3 separate regions of the Homo sapiens genome follow, and regions 2 and 3 are each linked to region 1. The links are contacts of gene promoters, found by promoter capture Hi-C in blood cells and fetal thymus (Javierre and others, 2016). All regions are on one chromosome and are shown on one strand. Each heading gives the region's core, a stretch centred on a gene start or on the middle of the fragment in contact. The rest is flanking DNA. Distances are from core to core; before and after follow the strand shown. Region 1 holds the start of APOOL (apolipoprotein O like). Region 2 overlaps HDX (highly divergent homeobox). Region 3 overlaps HDX (highly divergent homeobox).

Evidence for each region. Contacts are between HindIII fragments. The CHiCAGO score rates a contact against its expected background, and 5 or more counts as called.
Region 2: a fragment that was not itself captured here is called in contact with the fragment with the promoter of APOOL in region 1 in 1 of 17 cell types (monocytes); the score reaches 5.6 in monocytes.
Region 3: a contact is called between a fragment that was not itself captured here and the fragment with the promoter of APOOL in region 1, in 1 of 17 cell types (monocytes). The highest score is 6.3, in monocytes.

What each region holds. Positions count from the first base shown.
Region 1 is chrX:85,002,265-85,005,247 of GRCh38, forward strand. It overlaps APOOL (apolipoprotein O like), which reads left to right and starts at 1,613. Exons shown (of 9, transcript NM_198450.6): 1 at 1,613-1,663. The coding sequence starts at 1,649. The HindIII fragment of the contact is 4,827 bases long and covers 1-2,983 here.
Region 2 is chrX:84,331,616-84,334,598 of GRCh38, forward strand. HDX (highly divergent homeobox) reads right to left here. Exons shown (of 11, transcript NM_001177479.2): 9 at 2,144-2,227. Among named protein-coding and RNA genes, the nearest start is that of MIR548I4, 110 kb to the left of the region's middle. The HindIII fragment of the contact is 601 bases long and covers 1,255-1,855 here.
Region 3 is chrX:84,472,529-84,475,511 of GRCh38, forward strand. It overlaps HDX (highly divergent homeobox), which reads right to left. Exons shown (of 11, transcript NM_001177479.2): 3 at 2,723-2,869. The coding sequence starts at 2,869. Among named protein-coding and RNA genes, the nearest start is that of HDX, 28 kb to the right of the region's middle. The HindIII fragment of the contact is 2,301 bases long and covers 387-2,687 here.

The DNA.
Region 1 (2,983 bases), core at 363-2,862:
AATGCAATTAAAACACCTTGATCCATTTTTTTCCTTTTTTGGTTCTGTACTATTTATTTTGCATTTTATTTTTATATTGGCATATATATGTATGTATATGTTTATATTAAGTTCAATAAAAGAAAATAGTCACTCAATGTTTCTTTTGTAGCCAGTATTATTAGTTTCATTTCATCATTATTTCTTAAAATAATTTTGTCATTTACAGGACAGTTCTGTTAAAAAGGATCTGTTTTGGGTATGAAATGTGATAGGTATCAACTAATGCCTAGTATATAGTTTGCACATAATAAATATTTGTTGATTGAATGAATGAATACATGAATTAATATTGGGACTGTTAATGGGCATATTATGAGCATCTTCTTTCCTCAGAATCCTTCAGGGAGGCCTACAGCAGACCTTGCTCCTGTTGTGAATATTGCAATATACCCTTAGTATATTCTCCTGATAGCACCAAAATCATCCTTTAAAAATGTAAATTAGATCACATCACACCTTTGCTCAAAATCCTCCAATGATTTCCCATCTTATTCAGCATAAAATCCAAATTTATTTTGGCGGCACGAAAGCCCCTACACTGTGTTACTTCGCTACCTCTGAAATTATTGCTCCAGCCTCACTGGACTTTTTCATTGCTGTTCCTTCCGTATGCAACCCTCTTCTCTAAATTCCTCCAGGACTTTTATCAAATGAGCTTATCAGAGTCTTTCTCTCATTGATATAAACCAGTAAACTCCCACCTCATTCCCATACTGTTTTATTTTCCTTCATAGCATTTGTCTCTTTTTTAAAATTTATTATTTATTTTTATTTATTTATTTATTTTTTTGAGACGGAGTCTCGCTCTGTCGCCCAGGCTGAAGTGCAGTGGCGCGATCTCCGCTTACTGCAAGCTCCGCCTCCCGGGTTCACGCCAGTCTCCTGCCTCAGCCTCCCGAGTAGCTGGGACTGCAGGCGCCCGCTACTACGCCCGGCTAATTTTTTTTGTACTTTTAGTAGAGACGGAGTTTCACCGTGTTAGCCAGGATGGTCTCGATCTCCTGACCTCGTGATCCGCCCGTCTCGGCCTCCCAAAGTGCCAGGATTACAGGCGTGAGCCACCGCGCCGGCCTCATTTGTCTCTTTTACTCCTGTAATCATAAGCTCTGTGAGGAAGCCACTATGTTTTGTCTATGCCCCGAACAACTGCCCGGCACAGAGTATGCTCTCCGTGACTTAGTTTTAGAATGAATGAACTTACCCATGTTTCGCAGAGGTAATAAGTTGTTTTTCTTACTATATAATTAATTATTAAAGCAGCTACATTTGGGTATTAAGTCCTTATCTGGACATATCACATATGCCCGAAACAAAATAATTAAAAGTTCTGCACCCAGGAAAATAACTCCCAACTGGACTATTGATAATGTTCTGGAAGGCTTTATCTGGGACCGGGAGGGTCAACCACAGGGGTGAACAGTTTCTCCAGAAGACAGCTGACCGAAACCGCAGCAGTTGCCAAGGCGGCTGGAGGAGGGCGGAGAAAAGGCGGTAACTGGCAGGCAAGGGGCGTAACGGGGTGGGGCTGTCCTAAGGGAAGCCTAGTCGAACTGATTTGTCCCTCTCTGCTCTCCGTCTGAAAACCTTGGCCGAAAGGGTTGTAGACATGGCGGCCATCAGGGTAAGCGAAAACCAACTTGCTTAATTTCTGTGGGTGCCGATAGCATCCCGGTAACTGTAAAAGGGATCCTACTAACTTCTGAAGGAGCCCTGAAACAAGGGGCAGGGTGGAGGTGGGTTTTGAGATAATTGCAATCTTTATCGTTTGAAGCCTCAAGACACCTGCCTTTCCCCATTAGGGTTTTATCAGCCTGGGACGCTGCTCCCTCAATCCCCTGTGGTTGTCGATTTACACAGTGGCACAGTACAAAACTGGGAAACGGCTGGGTGAAAATGGCTGGCCAGGCGACGAGCCGCAGTAGACGTTTCGGTCTTCAGCTGCAATAAAGAGAAAAATATATATATAAACTTGGCATTTGTCTCGGCGCACAGGGCAAGGCCACATGACCCTATGGAAGGACTTTGTTGAAACATTTGGGGTGAAACTGACCAGGATAGAGAGGTCCCATAGTCTTTCAGCAGTGCGCTGGTTTACACATAGTGTTGTTGCTTTCTGTGCTCGAATAACCTGTTCCTTTCGAGTTTTACGCTTGGGAAAGGTGCCTTTACTTGGGAGTCCGTGTACAGTGAGTGACTCAGCTGGCAGCTTGCTGCAGTTCCCTAAGTAGTGTTTAATAATGGTAGTCTACAGATATTTACGTAGCGGGTTTTAATTGTAAAATATTCTGTTAGGCTTGCAGGAGATACAGTATGAATAATTCAGTTCCGCTGAAGTTTTAAGTCGGCAGCGTCTACAGTTCTGGTTCTCATACTTCATCTGAGTTATTTGAACAACCTCCTACCTGAACTTGCCACCTCAAGCCTGGCTCTCATGTAATCTGTTTTCCTCTGTGTTGCCAGAGTACATCTACCAAAATGCAAATTTGATTTTTGCCTCCCCCCGCATTTAAAAAATTTTATGGGCATGTCATCATCTCCCCTCTGGGGTCAGGCCATACTCTTATGTCTAGAACATCTGATTTTACCTAGACTTTCCAGCCTCATCTCTTGTCACTCAGGAACCCTCCTCCTGTCGATACTGAGCTGCTTGCTTGACCCCGCCATGCTTTTTTACGTGCTCTTTCTCTGGGCCTAAAGTGCCTTTTCCCATGCTTATCTAGTTGTATTTATAGTTCATTCATTCATTCAGCAGCTATTTGTGTACAGCCTCCCCATATGCAAAACACAAAAATGCCTTGTTTAATAGTGTCCTTGATCTCCCCAGTCTATTTTATTTTATTTTATTTTTTATTTTTGAGACGGAGTCTCTCTCTGTCTCCCAGGCTTGAGTGCAGTGGCGCGATCTCAGCTCACTGCAACCTCCACCTCCCGGGTTCAGGCG
Region 2 (2,983 bases), core at 305-2,804, 670 kb before region 1:
CGTTTCAGTCAACAATGTGCCACATATAATGACAGTCATCCCATAAAATTATAATGGAGCTGAAAAATTTCTATCACCTAGTGATGTTGTAGCCATCATAACATCATAGTACAATGCATTAACTTTTCTATGGATAGATACACAATACTTATTTGTGTTCCAATTGCCTACAGTATTCAATACAGTGACATGCTGTACAGGTTTGTAGCCTAGAAGCAATAGGCTATACCATATACCCTAGGTATGTAGTAGGCTATATACATCTAGGTTTGTGTAAGTACACTCTATGATGTTTTGCACAATGACAAAATTGCCTAACAATGCATTTCTCAGAATTTATCCCCATCATTAAGTGATGCATAATGGTACTTAAGATATCAACAATGTGGTTTTCATCCCCAAACAAGAAACACTAGTATGTGTATATAACTAGGGTACAACATTTTCTCTGAAGACAGATAAATTACTAAACTGGTAGAGCTTTTTAAAACCAACATCCTGAAATCAGTAACAAGAACTGCTATATGAGGTTTTGCTTACCTTTCCCTTAGAAGTAACAAAGTTCATGTGAGGTGAGTTGAAAAATTTTAAAATCATGATTACAAAAAGATATATTTTCTATATAAGTGCTGAATTTTGAGGATTAAAAAAAGAACTTTATGGAACTGCCAAGCCTGAGACACTTACATAAAACATATTTAAAAAATCCCTAATGGGGTAGTGAATGACCCCTTTGTTTCCACAGAATTTATTACAATGGAAAACACTGGATTAATACAATGCTCTTGAGAGTTCGGTGAAAATATTAACAAACATTTCTGGACTAGACACTCTGCCCTGCCCTCCTCTGGTTTTTAGCGCCAAACCTTTTCAAGGAGACTGCCACCCAAGAGGGGAGAGGTCTTGGAAAGAATCCTCTGAGTCCTGGGCCCAACCCTCTTTGACATATTTGAGAGTGCTAAGAGGAGCACTCTTAACAGCTGTGCAATCTAGTCCTTTCGTCTGTAGTTTCCACAACCTGTGCCAAGCTGTGGCATGCAGAGACATTGAAATCCTGAACTGGGCATTTAGAAATATTATATGACCATGTAGGAGAGATTATCGTAATCTCTTGTATTTCAGAACCAACAAACTTATAATTCTGTTAGTTGAAAATACAGTCAAAATATAGGATTTCATCATGTTCTTTGACCATCTAGGAAATACGTTTCAAAAGATATTTTCCTTCTGTGTTTACAATATTCAATATTTTAAAGCTTGACATGTTATGAATATTTGGAAAACAGAATCTGTTGGATGGCATACATTTCAATTATGGTAAAACTGAAAAGATTTTTGAGGAAATGACAGCTGTTATATTTTCTGATTAAATGTTATTTTCTGTTAACATTTTAACATTACTAATCTCTGCTTTGAACACTAATGACATTCCATAACAAGAACTTTTGTGTATGAAAAGGACTGTGTGGCCAAAATTTCAGAAGTTCCCAAAGTTACCTAGTAAGATAGGATAATGATTATCAAAGGGACAGCTTTTATAAATCTATGCAGAAAACATATTGACATACAGACTGATATCTTATATACATATTTAATAAAATAATATGTATAGCACCCTGTCAAAGGCAGCTTTTCAATTTAGTAATAAATGACATTAAGAAAAGGTCATCTGTATTCATATTCATTCTGTATTTGCTTTGGAAATTGTTTGCAAACTTCTCCTATAACAGCTGTATTATCATATTTTTAAAAATTGTCCACAGAAGAAGTAAAAATTTAGGATAAAATTAGCAAAGTCCACTGGAAAAAGAAATCCCTTTTACTATCATTTAAAAATGAACATTGGCTTTATAAAAGCTTTGTCATACATTTCATGTTGGCCATGACCAAGTACTGCCTCCATCCTGCCATATACCATCAATACTTACTCCACTCAGCAAACTCTTTGCCTAAGATCATAACCCCTAAACCCGACAGCAATAATTAAAATAACCAGCACTCTGACTGATATTCAAGTAGCCAGAAAGAATTAATGCAGAGCCTTAGAATGCTTAACTTATTAAATAGGAGTAATATAGGTATTGTAAAATTCTGCCTCATTTAATACCTTCTCTTAATAAATTCATAATTTAAAATTACCTACCTTATAATCCAAGAAAGAGTTTACTTGTTCTACTTCAGAATTACTTATCATGTCACTTTCTTCATCATCAATAATTTCTATTTTCTGTAACACAAGTAGAGAAGTTACAAATATATATCACATCATTCTTACTACACTCAGCAATGCATAGAAAATATGCATTCAATGTTTAGGTTATCTAGTCTAGGTTATCTGGAATAAATTCTGATAACTGACTGGCTCCTCAGTGTTACATATAGTGTGTGTCTGAGCCACCTCCCTCTACCTTTAACTGATGACTGCTTGTTAAATAAAAAAATTAATACTATTTAAAATAGAAAATGTCTTTCTACAATATCCCTAACAAAGCAGGCGAACTGCTTAAACAGCACCCTCCAGGGACAGGAAATTTACTTCCTGTAATGGTGGTCTATTTTAATGCGAGTAAACATACAATTGATAGGAATAGCTTTCTTTTTTAAGTTTCCACATGCCTCTTTGTGACTTCTAATGTAAAATGTCAGCATATGACATATTCCAAAATCAAACACAATTTTTAAAAATTCCAATATTTACTGCACACTGCACAACTTTAGCTTGACAACTAATTAAAAGCAGGCATCTATGATGTAATGATAAAAATAGCATGATGATTTGTTTCCTTCACTGAAGAGTAACAGCCAGGATGAGGAGGTGGAGAGAGAGGAAAAGGGAGAAAGAGAAAGGAGAGAGACAGATTAAATTATCTTTAGCTTTTAAAAAAAGGCATAGCATAGCTTGTACAATATCTTGTCCACAGTAGGTACTAACACTAATTAAATATCTGTAGAAAGAATGAACAAAACAGTTCAGCGTTGATGA
Region 3 (2,983 bases), core at 287-2,786, 530 kb before region 1:
GTACCAAAACTAAAATTGTTCACTAAACATTGCTCACTAAAGGGAGAAGAGAAGGCACACAAAACAGAAGCAATGGGAGAAATTACTAAATAGCAGTCTGGGGTCCTTTAAGGAAAAAAATAATTCCATATACCTTACCAAGTTGTGAGTATTATTATTTTATGGCACAGTATAATAATTGATTTCCATAGTGAAAACCCTGAGTCAAAAAGTAAGGGTTCAATTGTTTTCCACATTCTCAATTGAAGAAAGTAGGAAAGTATGTAAGAAATATTTCCATTTAAAATGAAAATAAAGAAAACACATTGCCTGAGGCTTCCCAAAAGCTGAATTAAATTTTACTAAAATTTGTTCAGTTATTATCAATTATTATCAAAATATACCAAAGCTTATAAGATGTAAATGATTCTCATTTACGTTACATCTTATAAGATGGGTCAAATGAAATTGATATGATGAGAATTTGGGGTTAGGAACTAATAAAGTGATATTCATAGGAAAAAAAAGAAAGAAAAGTAATTCGGGTCATTAATCCTTAGTGTCCATAAATTTGTGTTTCAGTTCTTTCTTAGAAATTCACTGTCTCTAAACTTCTTTCCCTTTTTTTATATCTCCTTCTTTGTTTTCTTGTTTTTTTTACACCAGTATATTTATTTTTGCTTGATGTTTTAACTTTTTAAGTTTTCTTTACATTGGGATCAAGTTCTTAATACAGTGGGACTTAAGGATTTTTTAAAAGAAAAATGCAATGAATACTATCTTAGTAAAAATAAAGAAAGAGCTCTTTCAAGTAGAACATATAACTCTAGCAAAGTATCTGGGGAGGGGGGTGGGGTGTAGAGTGATGAGTCTACAAAAAAATTCCTTTTGCCCTTTAACTGGAAAACCCATCAAATATGTGTTGGGATTTAGATAAAGAAGACTGAATTTCTGTACAATTTACATTGGAATGGAGGGAATGAATCCATTTTTTACACTTTCTTGTAACATGTAACATTTTACTGATAATCTACATTCTAAGAAATTATATATTTCATTCCCATTGTTTGTTTTAGATTTTCACACCATTTTGAGCATAAATATAAATCTCTGTATTTCAACACTCTCAATATTCAATCACAATCAAGTAAGTTATGAGAAGTTTGCAATAACACATCGGAAATATGAAAGATTTCACAATATGAAAGATTTTCACAATGCAGCTGCCTGGCAAGCGTTTTCATTTTAAGGTAATGACAAGAAAAAAGAAAAAAAAAAGCAGAGGAAATTACTGCAGGAAAAAAAAAAGTAGCACTTACTAAATGCAATCTCATCAACCCATTTTATATTACATTTTCTAATACAATTAGACATTTTCCTCTGTGGCTTAGTAAAGATATTTAAAATAAGCTGTTTAGAGCTGTTAATAGGAGATATTTCTGGTTCTTAAACAAATCTGAGTATGATGATTGGTCTCAGCAAATAAGAAACAGATATCCTGGGCCGGGCGCGGTGGCTCACGCCTGTGATCCCAACACTTTGGGAGGTCGAGGCGGGCAGATCATCTGAGGTCAGGAGTTCGAGACCAACCTGTCCAACATGGCGAAACCCCGTCTTTACTAAAAATACAAAGAATTAGCCGGGCGTGGTGGCAGGCACCTGTAATTCCAGCTACTCGGGAGGCTGAGGCAGGAGAATCGCTTGAACCTGGGAGAGGGAGGTTGCAGTGAGCTGAGATCCGGCCACTGCACTTCAGCCTGGGCGACAAGAGCGAAACTCCGTTTCAAAAAAAAGAAAAAAATAAAAGAAACAGATATCCTGGATATTTTTGTCTAGAATTGGTGGTACAATTCCCTATTTGAAGGCGAATAAATCTTTTAGTCTTTAAGAAACACATATTCTGAATGATTATTCTTATTAAAATATATTTATCTTTAGGGTCTTTGAAGGTACATCGAAAGCAAACTAAACTTAAGAACAGACATCCTTTCTCTTTCCTAAATTAGCCTAATGAATGCCAAGCAGGAGAAAGTTGCTAATCTTTCAATCACTAAGGTTTCACGCTAAGAGGATTTGTAACATTTTCAAACAGACATAAAAGGTCCTATGCATTCAATAAGATCCGTGACCAGTTCTGTTAGATTTATCTCTTGCCTCCTCTCAATCACCTTCTCGTTACCTTTCAAGAATGTAGCAGCTCTGATTTTTACTACTGAATAACTATGATTGTGATAAAGAAAAATTTATTCTCTTAAGAGTCCTTGTCCCTTACTTGCTAACCCATTAAACTGCATGCATTTTATTTAGAAAGAGAAAGTATTTATAAAGCAGACCAAATGCCTGATGAAAAGTTCAAATACAATGAAAAATATGTCACATATAGTATTCACTTGGTAAATGCCTGTTTTACTGATATTATTTTTGGGGATTACATCTACATTAATTTGGGGTTTAAAGAGCATAAGATCAACAATGAATCTTAAATGTATTTATTAGTTTAAAAAGCTAAGATTTTAAAAAGATGTTTACGCTGCAAGGGTTTCTGTGTGTTCAAGGTATTTATAGAAACAAATACATACTAAATGATTAGCCCTATTTATTTTTAAAATAGTATTGTTATACCAGGGAAGTGAAGCTGTTTATAAAATTAGTGACTTCATACCCTGAATATTTTTTCTCATATTAAGCAAATATCACTTGTAATAAGAAGCTTTAAATTTGAGTGTAAGACCTCAATACTTACCCTGACTACACTGAAGTCCAGCTTAGTCTCCTGTGCACACTGTAATATGAGCTGAAAGCAATTTTTACTTTGATTTGTCATTCCATTTTCATAATAACGCTGTAAAATCCTTTGTTGTTCTACAGTAAATACAGAACGTAGATTCATCTAAAAATAAAAGAAGATACTCTGAAAATTGGAATAAAAATTTGGTATGTGCAGAATTTGTACACCTATTTTTTTAATACAATTTCAATGCTTCCAAGCTGTAAACTTCTGTAA